3 separate regions of the Homo sapiens genome follow, and all the other regions are linked to region 1. Evidence: promoter capture Hi-C in 16 types of primary human blood cells and fetal thymus (Javierre and others, 2016). All regions are on one chromosome and are shown on one strand. Each heading gives the region's core, a stretch centred on a gene start or on the middle of the fragment in contact. The rest is flanking DNA. Distances are from core to core; before and after follow the strand shown.

Region 1 (3,749 bases), core at 596-3,095:
TCACAGTGCTGGAGCAGCCTGGCTATGCCAAGGCCTCCCAGGGAGCAGCTGAACCCCTGCCAAACCGATTCTGCCAGATGCAGCCTGGAATTCTTAGCTTTATGCCCTCAGGGTTCTACCCCTACCCCAAATAATACAGTTTCCCATTGTTGCTACTGGACAAGTAAGCACAGGCTTGGAGCATGACAAGCTTCTCCATGGTAACCAGGAAGTGGCTGCCCTTCTTCCCTGCCAATCTTCTGGTATCTAAGGCACTCCTCTGCCAGGTAAGAAGGCCCTATGGTGAAAGTGGCAGGGCAAAGGGAAATGCTAATACCTGGTCGTTAAAAGCACAGCTGAGTCAGGCCCTATCCTAACCCTGGCCGCTTGTTCGTGGGGACCGCACAGTCTCCATGTGGTCCAGGGCTAGGCTGGAAGCCATCCATCCCTCTATGACTCCAAACTGAGAAGCAGGACCCTCCAGTGCTAGGGACATCAGCCCACCCTAGGCACAGACACTGCCTGTCACCTGCCTCATCAGCCATCCTCTCCCACAGAGCACAGGTTTTGGGTGAAGACTTGGAATATGTTTTTGGAGAACAGAACAACTAACTCACCAGATTCTTCCCAATATGCTCATTCACGACTCAGAATAACAGCAAAGTGGCCACTGTTGTAAATGAGGAAATAGCCTCAAAGTGGCTGAGTACTTTAAGGTCATACAACTCGTCTATTAAGAAAAATGGCTGAGCGCAGTGGCTCACCCCTGTAATCCCAGCACTTTGGGAGGCCAAGGCGGGCAGATCACTTGAGGCCAGGAGTTCGAGACCAGCCTGGCCAACAGTATTCTCTACCAAAAATACAAAAATTAGCTGCGCGTGGTGGATGCCTGTAATTCCAGCTACTCGGGAGGCTGAGGTGGGAGGCTGAGGTGGGAGGCGGAGGTTACAGTGAGCTGAGATCGCGCCACTGCACTCCAGCTTGGGCGACAGAGTAAGACCCTGTCTGAAAAAAAATTTAAAAAATGAGTATTTATTAGGTACCTACTATGTGCCAGGTGCTTTCATCACATAATCACCTCAGTTAATCCTCTACCACTCCAGTGTCTGGATCTGACCCCCAGTTATGTCTCCCTGGGTGTTCCCACCACATTGAGCTGCCCAAGAGAAGGTGGAAAGATTGTCACGTTCCTGGAGTAAAGGTCACCGCCGGCCAAAGACCAGCACTTGGGCGCAGGGGCCGGCCAGACTCACTTCATCTCAGGTCATCCTTTTCCTGGGCCTCCACCCGCTTCCCACTCCGCCCGGCTCCACCTACCCTGAGCGCGGACACCGTGGGCAGGTTCATTTCTGGGGAGCTGGCTATTATCTTGTGAGCCGACAGGATGCCTGCAGAAGACAGAGCTTTTCAACTAGGGGTCGCGGCCCAGCCCGTTACCACGCTTTCCCTGGCTCTAAAACCCAGAGCCGTCCTAACAGTGCCAGTCTCCCTCTCCCCCTCAACCCTCTACGAGGACAGAAGACGCACTTGCTGCTCAACCAGAGTCTCATCTACCCCACCGGACGCAAACTCCCCTTTCATTCGCTCATGCTGGTGGGACGGAGGCCCCCTCGGGCCTCGGGACCGCCCGCGAAGCCGCCTCCCGCCTCCACGCGCTTGCCTGCGGCCGTGAAGCCCCGCGCCAGAGCATAGGCCAGCTGGCCGGCCCCGATGAAGCCCACGCTCATGGTCCGCGGTTCACGCCTCCTGGGAGCCGCACGAACCCCCTCAGCGAGGGACCGGAAGTAACGCTAGGGGAAGGGCGGACAGCGCAGGGGCGAACGGGCGGCGTGCCGAGGACCGGCGAGCTAACAGCAGCTTCTGGGATGGTGCAACCCTATTCTCCCCCGGCGGATATCTCCCGGGCGGCTGATGGCGCCTTAGGCCACGTGGCCCCGCCCCGTCCGGGCGACCAATCAGTGGCCAGGATCTCGGGGCAGGCCAATCCGCGGCCCGAGCCAGGCCGCGTGCCCGCCTCCTCCGCTCGCGACTGGAGGGCGGAACTCCGGGCTGGAGTCCCGGAAGCCCCTGTGGCAGCTTGGCGTGAGCTCCAGGCGCCCGCCGGCCCAGGACGCCCGGCCGCCCCCACCCCCCCCCCCCACCCCAAGGCTGAGGTCGCCGTCCCTAAGCCACCTCGGGCTCAGGGCTGAGGCCTGGCCCAGGCCTGGCTAATATTATTTCTGGCGCTGGCCATCAGATGCCCCTCAAGGCCCACAGGAATTCTCCAGGTTGCCGATTTGCGGGGATGAACGAGGCCCTCCTGGCGTAGGTTCAGACCAGGTGGCGGCGAGGTTCAGACCAGGTGGCGGCGAGGCGGCACCAGGGTGGTCAGCCGCGGCTTATTCACTTGAACTTGAGTGTTTCTCGCGAATTTGTCCAAACTAGATACAAGAAGGACAAGTTCGAGTCTCCGACTCTTCCGCGATCCCGCACCCCCCAGCCCCTTGCTGTCACTTGCCTTTTTTTTTTTGAGACGGAGTTTCACTCTTGTTGCCCAGGATGGAGTGCAGTGGCACGATCTCGGCTCACTGCAATCTCCGCCTCCCGGGTTCAAGCGATTCTCCTGCCTCAGCCTCCCCAGTAGCTGGGATTACAGGCGCCCGCTACCACGACCGGATAATTTTTGTATTTTTAGTAGAGACGGGGTTTCACCATGTTGTTCAGGCTGGTCTTCAACTCCTGACATCAGGTTATCCGCCCGCCTCGGCCTCCCAAAGTGCTGGGATTATAAGCGTGAGCCACCGCGCCCGACCTGTCTCTTGCTTTTAAAAGCTCCACCAATGTGATGTTTCCTTTTCTATCAGTAGTAAATATAAGGGGCCGCAGGGAACAAATGACAGAAGTAGAGAGGAAGAAGGTGGCGTTCCTAGAGGACTCAGAAGAGCTGAGGACCCTTAGTTCCCATGGTCTCTCTGCTAGCTTTTCTAGTCCTTTCCGTGTAATGCACACCCCCACTCCCAGGCAAGGGGCTGCTTTCTGTGAACTTCCCTGAGCAAGTCCCCAGGCCCTCAGTTTGTGCACCCTTTAAAGTGAGGACCAAATATAATATTTACTATTAAGCAAAATAATGCTATGTTTTATTTATTTATTTATTTATTTATTTATTGAGACAGAGTTTCGCTCTTGTTGCCCAGGCTGGAGTGCAATGGCACGATCTCGGCTCACTGCAACCTCCACCTCCCGGGTTCAAGCGATTCTCCTGCTTCAGCCTCCTGAGTAGCTGGGATTACAGGCATGCGCCACCACGCCCGGCTAATTTTTTGTATTTTTAGTAGAGACAGGGTTTCTCCATGTTGGTCAGGCTGATCTTGAACTCCCGACCTGAGGTGATCTGCCTGTCTCAGCCTCCCAAAGTGCTGGGATTACAGGCGTGAGCCACAGCACCTGGCCTCTGTATTTTTTAAATTCGAAAAGTAATACAGACATATTGAAGAAAGTTTGGAGATAAAAGTAAAAATAAAATCATCCACATCATACTTCCCAAAGATAGTTTCTTACAAACATTTTTGGTGTATTTCCTTACACTATCATGTCCTATGCATATCTACTTTCTCCATCATTGGAAATAAATGATGTACATGTAGTTTTGAAATTTCTCTAGTAGACATGAGCATTTTCCAATGTCACTGAAAAGTTATTTAAGACAGTTTTAATGACTACTTATTATATGTATGTACCTTACTGATTTAACCATTCAAAGGTCAATGTTAGGTTTATTGATTTATATAATA
Region 2 (3,749 bases), core at 320-2,819, 540 kb before region 1:
TTTGAAGATGTATAATCTATTTTTGTTACCTATACTCATCCTACAGTGGTATAGAACACTAAACATATTCCTCCTGTCTACCAGTAATCTTGAATCCTTTAACAAATCTCTCCCCATCTCCCCACTTCCTGTTCTGTGTCTCATTCTTCTCTTGGTTTTTTTTGCAGACCTGAGCAGAGTAAGGATGAACTGGTGATGGAAATTCTATCCGACTTGCTAAAGCGGCTGCCACTGACAGTGGAGAAAGAAGAAATTGCTGTTGGAACTCCAAGCACATTGAAGAGCATGATGTCAAGCTCCATTTGGGAGTCTCTTTCTAAAAATCTCAAAGGTGAGCATGGGACAGGAGCTTTTTCCCCTTACCTCACTCTCCTCAAGAAAGGACTCTGGTGTCAGGAGTAAGGTAAAGATAAGACAAAAATTCTGTAGAAGTGAAAATACTGAGATAAGATGGAAAACTCAGTCTCTGCCTCCTCTCTCCAAGTTGAAAGACAGAGAGCACAGAAGAAAATCACGCTTTAGTTTGGGGGTGGGTAGCGTGTGGCACTGAAATCAAAAGTGAAGAAATAACAAGTGTAGCAAACTAGAAAGCAGCAACTCTGCTTTGGAGATTGTCAAGAGTTCTAGGTGCCTGTTCTCTCTGCCTCTCTGCCTTCTGGAACAGCGGAAGTTTAGATGGACCTTCTGCTGAAAGACCACTTGACTCCAAGAAGCTAAGGGGAATCAGGGCAGGCCCAGGAAGACAGAGGAAGCCTGATTGCCCAGAGATGACTCCAAACCCAGCTCTAAGTGGCTAAATTGCTAGACTATGATAATTTTCCCAGTTAAATTTTAATACCCATATTTTATCCCTTTGCAGAAGTTTATTTGGGAACCAAATATTGAGCAATAGTTTATCAAAACAGTGTCATTGTTGAGTCTCAATCAAAGGTCAGCAAATTAGGGCTCGCAGGCCAAATCCAGCCCACCATTTGTTTTTGTACAGCCTGTGAACTAAAATGGCTTTTGCATTTTTTAATGGTTAAAAAAAATCAAAAGAAGGAATATAGTTTGTGACACATAAATGTTATATGAAACTCCAATTTGAGTGCCATAAGTAAAGCTTTACTGGAACACAGCCACACTTACTCATGACATATTGTCTATGCATCCACACATAGTAGATAGTGTGGCCGCACCCACACTACAAGGGGAGAGCTGAGTAGCTTTCACAGAGGTGGTGTGGTCCCCATACCCTAAAATGTTTGCTATCTGACCTTCTACAGAAAATGTTTATCAACCCCTGGTCAAGACACACAAAATTCCCTTAACTTTCAAAGCCTAAGTCCCTCCATGTAAAGCCTCTTTTTAATCTGTAAAATATCAAAATTTTATTTCTTTTTAAAATCCAGATCACGACCCCCTTATCCATTGTGTCTTGCTAACCTTTTTGAAGCAAGAAATTAAACGATTTGATAAGTTATTATTTGTCATACATAAATCCTTAAAAGATCTTCAGCTTGCTATAAAAGGAGAGATCATCCTCACCCAAGAATTGGAGGAAATATTTAACTCTTTTCTTAATATGAGAGTGCCTACATTGTGGCAGGTAAGCAATTATTATTATTTCCTATTTTCTTGCTTGCTTGAAATAAATGTCCAAGTTCAAGGGAATGGTGAAGGTAAATGGTGCATCTGTGTGATGAAATATGTAACTCTTAAAAGATGCTGACGTACTTTTTCATATTTTCACATCTCTGAAGTTGGAATGCCTCTTAACAGTCACTGTTAGCCAGGCAGCACCATCACTTAGTTCTCACTATCTGTGTATGTGAACTATGTATCATGGCAGTTCATGTCAAAGTAGGTGCACTCTTGGTATTACTATAAGTGTTGAGTTTAATTGCTTTTAAAATAAAAACAAAGCTAAACAAGATGATGAAGAAATTACTGGGTCATGGTCTTAAACAGAAGACCAAATTGTAAAAACACAAAATGTATTAGACCAGGAATAAAATAAGCCATGGAAGATCTGGCAGCACAGAGTAGGAAATTAACAAGCTTGATGTTGGACACAAACACTATTTCTCCAGAAATGAACTTCTCCCCTTAGGATTAGCACTGGCCTTTTCCAGAACCCTGAATCCTATACCAGATTGAAAACCTGTGTAGACATGTGAAAAGATGTTCAACAGCATTTGCTTTGAGGGAAATGCAAATCAAAACCACAATGAGATACAACTTCACACCTACTAAGATGGAAAGAATTAAAAATACATAAAAACAAGCATTGGGAGAAATTGGAACCCAAATGCACCACTCATGGGAATGAAAAATGGTGCAGCTACTTTGGAAATAGTCCAGTAGTTCCTCAAAAAGTTAAACAGATTTACCATTTGACCCAGCAATTTCACTCCTAGGAATATATCCAACAGAAATTAAAGCATAAATCCAGGCCGGGCACAGGGCCTCATGCTTGTAATCTCAGCACTTTTGGAGGCCAAGGTGGCGGATCACCTGAGGTTAGGAGTTTGAGACCAGCCTGGCAAACATGGTGAAACCCCGTCTCTACTAAAAATAATAATAATAATAAAATGGCCAGGCATGGTGGTGGGTACCTGAAATCCCAGCTACTTGTGAGGCTAAGGGAGGAGAATTGCTTGAACCCAGAAGGCAGAGGTTGCAGTGAACTGAGATCATGCCATTGCACTCCAGCCTGGGCAACAGAGGGACACTCTGTCTCAAAAAAAAAAAAAGTCCACCCAAAAACTTGCACATGAATGTTCATGGCAGCATTATTTGTAATACCCAAAAGGTGAAAACAACTCAAATGTCCATTGACTGATGAATGGATAAAATATGGTATGTCCCTGTAATGAAATATTATTCAGCCAGCAAAATGAATGAAGTACTGATACAGGCTATCACATGGATAAACCTTGAAAACAGTAGTTCTTCTGTGCTAAGTGTAGGAAGGCCATCACAAAAGACCATATATTGTATGATTCCATTTACAAGAAATGTCCAGAATAGTGACAGAAAATAGATTATTGGTTGCCTCAGTTTGTGGGTGACAGAGAACTGGAGAATGGATGCTGAGAGGGTTTTCTTTTGGACTCATGAAAACGTTCTACAATTGACTACAGTGGTAGTTGCACAACTCAGTGATTATACGAAAAACCATTCATTTGTACACTTTAAATAAGTAAGTTGTATGGCATATGAGTTATATCTCAATGAAGTTATTTTTAAAACCTAGGTAGAAAACATGAAGACAGACGAGAGGAAATAATAACAATTATAATTCCTTAAAATTGAATACAAGCTGTGATGAAAAATTGAGATGTGGAGACACATCCGAATCACAGGACTTCAGAGCTCGAAAGGATCTTAGGGAACCCCCACTCCAATGACCTTATTTTACAGATATGGAAACTAAAAAGCAGAGAGGCCTTATTACATTCTTAGCAAGCCCCGTGGTGAAACAGCTAGGACTCCACACGTGCAAAGTTAGGCTGAAAGAACAATGATGAGTTGGTACACTGTAAGTACAGTCACATGTGGCTGAGACCATTGCTCACTTGACAGAGTGACAAGAGGTGAGATGAGTCAGGTAGAAATGTCCGGCTTGGACAAATGGGTAGGAACTAGCACATTCAGAGACGAGGTGAGCAGAAAGACGTGCTGTGTGAGAAACAGATGAAGACATCCTGTTTTGGACATGGAAAGTGTGAGAAGCTAGAGGGGCTCTCAGGTGGAGCTACTGAAAG
Region 3 (3,749 bases), core at 470-2,969, 520 kb before region 1:
TACTCAGAGTCTGAGGTAGGAGGATGGCTTGAGCCCAGGAGGTTGAGGCTGCATTGAGCTATGATCACGCCACTGCACCCCAGCCTGGGCAACAAAGCAAGACCCCATCTCTTTAAAAAAAAAAAAAAAAAAAGTGCAATATGGTTCTGACTTCACTAGACCTCTCTGACCACTAAAAGCCAAATCCTGAGAATTTGGTAAATTCAATGTTCCTATAGGAAGAATGTTATTCTACTAATAATGGCTAACATAACTGAGCACTATGTTGAACACTAATAATTCCTATATCATCCTCAGGCCCCTCTATACTCTGTGGACGTATCAGCCAGATTTTATACATGAGGAAACCAGTGCTCAAAGAGATTAATTGCCCACACACACATTGCTAAGAGGGAGCACAGCTAGCATTTGAAGCCACATCTCACTGTCTCTTTATCATGGCAATGGTCCATGGGCAGAAAGCATAACCCACGTGTACACAAATGAAGATCCCAACAGTCCCCTCTCTCCATAGTAAGGGGGGTAGAAAAGGTGGGACTTGTACCCAGCACTAGACTCTTTTAACAGCCATGAACAAAACATGTATTTAATTGTCTAGGAAACTGTACCATCTATATTTAAGTAAATTGCACCTAGAAACACTCCACCTTGTATCTTTTGTTAAAATCCTATATTTCATCATTTGCTCCAAACAGTGCAAAACTAAACACCAAAATATAAATCGTATACTTGGTATTGGTGCATATTCTGACACACCCACATTTTGCAATGTAATGTCACAATGTAACGTCGCAGCAGGAAGAATTGAGAGGTGAAGCTGTCTGATCTCATCTCACAATTCAGGCTTAGAGTCAACTGGAAATCCAAACAAGCACTAAAGCACGGTCAGCAGGCACAGTACATGTGTGTGTCTCGTGTGTCTCTCACACACGTACTGTCTTTCAAATGCACAGATGCTTCTGTGATTCATACAAATGCATTTGAAAGTATGACTGGATCTACAATAGTTTTAGCATTTCTGTATTTTCTCAAACAGCAAATACTAAACACATGACCATTTTCTGGGAGTTAGGATTCCCAACTAACCCCTTTGAGTTCCAACATTCTGAGAGTTTTAAACAGCAGTTGGCCAGGGGTCCCAAACAGATGATCCTAGGAAAACAGGAGGCTGGGCAGGGGTGGGAATCTAAGGGCTCCTGTCTTGGTCCCAAAAATCTCAGTTTCAAGCAAGAAAGGGAAAAAAAAAAGGCTCCAAAGTGATCAAAATGTTGCTACATTTTATTTTCAACTTAAAACTTCATTATAAAATTTGCCAAATAAACATGTCAAAAACAAACTTAAAAACAAAGTGTAGCTGATATCCAGAAATTGCAGCACTGTATTGATAAAGGGCTCTTTTCATTACCAGGGAAAGAATTTAATGTCCTTCCTTCCTCCCCAAAAGCTTCCTTGGTGCAATCCAGTACAGAAAACGCCACCACTTTCTGATGCCAGGAGAAAAGCAAAATAAAAAAACTGCTTGCACACATTAGCACTGATAAAACAATGACAATTTCACTAAAAGAATGTTTAAAGACTACCGGATGCTGGAGCAAACCAACTTCATGACTGCATTAACATAAGCTAAGTTACATACACTTCAAATGCAGTATAGAATTAACACTGCATATCTAAATGGCTCATATATAAAATGTGTAATTAAAACCCAAACATACACACTATGTTTATTACATTCCCCTACATTGAAAGTACTGAGAACAATTTAACTCTGAACACAAAAGTTTAGTGAATTTGCTACTGTTCCATTACAGGACAATTAAAAATGAGACTATATCAACTTCACTAGAATTTAATTGCTAAAGCTACCTTATGCACATCTATTAAACTAAAAGAAACGACTTTAACCCCTTCAGTTGTTTTTAAGACAGCACTCCTTTACAGGGAGTCAGGTTTGGTAAATATAAAGGATACATAAAAAATACAGTATAAACTGCATAAGCTTAACAGTAGCAAAAACACTGATGAACTTTTAAAAAGTCAAAAATATATAAAAATATTAGCCTGAAATGGCAAATTTTCAAACACCGATCTGTGTAAAAATGTTTAAATATTGATGTTACTCCAAAAATATATACTTATTCTATTTTTTTTCTATTTGCAACAGTTTATAAAGGCAAACAAACACCTGCAATTGAGGTAGCAAAGCCAAATTCACAAACTTTGGATCAAGAAAAATACCCTTCCTATGTTTTAACAGCATCTTCTATACAATAGTGAATGAATTCTAATTGTTCCAAAATTTTTAATTCACATTACTTTACAAAATTTTATTTAAAATACTGAAAATGTTTTGTTAAAAAGACAGTTAGTCCTGACAATCATCTCACATTCAAAATACTGTACAAAAAAATCTGAAGTCACCATATATTACAAAAAACTAAGCTATGTATTTACATTTTCAATGTAGTTTTAGAAGTTGAGGTTAAGCCAACTGCTACAAATGGTCTCCTTTAAGCAGTGTCTGCTAATAATGTCATCACTTTTCACTTTCAGCATTTAATATAGGCCCTTCTTTTTGCTTTCAAATTATATAATTAGTAAAGGATTTAAAGAAAAACAAATGAAAATTCTATTCTCTTACTGAATAAAACATAAATGTACTTTAAATGGAACAGTGTTTTCATTTAAGAAAAGCCAACTGGCAAAAAAACATCAAAATTTGAAAAGTAATCAGAAACCATAAACATCAATAGCATTCTTCACAGTACATTTATATTAAGACTGTCTTCTGTTTTCAGATTAAGGGTTGAAAATTTCCCATTAAAATGCAAATTCTCACATCCTTACTTGTATTTTTCCTATGTTAACTGTAAGTTAATACAAGTAAACACGGCTATATTAAAAGATCAACTACTCGGCTCCATAGTCCTGACTCAAAAAGAAAAAAAAAAGTACAGACCCTGTCAGTGCAACAAAAGAAAGTTTCGGATTTTTTTCCTTGTTTTTGCAAATGGCAGCTGGAATTGCAGGAGTATTTTGTAGAAAAGCCAGAAGAGCATTAGTAGATGTATGGAAATATACGGTAGGGCACACGCTGACAGTACTTTTCCCAAGCCACGCCGTATTTCTTCTTACAGTGGTACTCGTCACGAGCTTCTCGGTGGACAAGCAACATGGTGAAATAAATTATGTAGAAATAAGGCAGAATGTGGTTAAAACCTGTGGATAATAATAGTACACAGTATTAGATATTTTTATTATCACTACAATGTATTTTTTCCTGCTTTCCCCCAAATTCTCTAAAAATGGAACCACAAGGTACTTCATTTTCTCTAATAATGATGAGAATAATTAAACAAGTCTGTAAAATCCCACTGGAAAGTGGCAGAAGGTCGTATCTAAATTAGAAGCTACTCAAAGACTGATGAATCCATTCTAACAATCCATCACAATCAAAACATCTGTCCTCATAGTTAATACACATCTCTTCATTTCTCGCCCTTCTTCCCCCAGCAAAGAAGAAAAACTGCTGTCTTCCACCACAGGCTGGGCCACCAAACAGGCAGCAGGCACGGGCCAGCTCCTCCACCTCCACCAGCTCCCCTGGATCCCCCTGCTCCCCCAGTTCCCCCAGCTCCCCCAGCTTCCCAAGATCCCCCTGCTCCCCCAGTTCCCCCAGCTCCCCTGGCTCCACCAGTACCTCCAGCTCCCCCTGACACCCCAGCTCCCCAAGCACCTCCAGCTCCCAC

The links. Contacts are between HindIII fragments. The CHiCAGO score rates a contact against its expected background, and 5 or more counts as called.
Region 2: a contact is called between a fragment that was not itself captured here and the fragment with the promoter of PYCR2 in region 1, in 1 of 17 cell types (naive B cells). The highest score is 6.0, in naive B cells.
Region 3: a contact is called between a fragment that was not itself captured here and the fragment with the promoter of PYCR2 in region 1, in 3 of 17 cell types (naive CD8 T cells, neutrophils and total CD4 T cells). The highest score is 6.3, in naive CD8 T cells.

What each region holds. Positions count from the first base shown.
Region 1 is chr1:225,922,405-225,926,153 of GRCh38, forward strand. It overlaps PYCR2 (pyrroline-5-carboxylate reductase 2), which reads right to left and starts at 1,846. Exons shown (of 7, transcript NM_013328.4): 1 at 1,640-1,846; 2 at 1,297-1,367. The coding sequence starts at 1,706. RefSeq lists silencers at 1,443-1,572, 1,883-1,972, 2,113-2,192 and an enhancer at 1,743-2,392. The HindIII fragment of the contact is 26,114 bases long and covers 189-3,749 here.
Region 2 is chr1:225,379,992-225,383,740 of GRCh38, forward strand. It overlaps DNAH14 (dynein axonemal heavy chain 14), which reads left to right. Exons shown (of 86, transcript NM_001367479.1): 80 at 168-331; 81 at 1,392-1,588. Among named protein-coding and RNA genes, the nearest start is that of LBR, 46 kb to the right of the region's middle. The HindIII fragment of the contact is 938 bases long and covers 1,101-2,038 here.
Region 3 is chr1:225,400,245-225,403,993 of GRCh38, forward strand. LBR (lamin B receptor) reads right to left here. Exons shown (of 14, transcript NM_002296.4): 14 at 1,258-3,219. The coding sequence ends at 3,059. Among named protein-coding and RNA genes, the nearest start is that of LBR, 26 kb to the right of the region's middle. The HindIII fragment of the contact is 555 bases long and covers 1,443-1,997 here.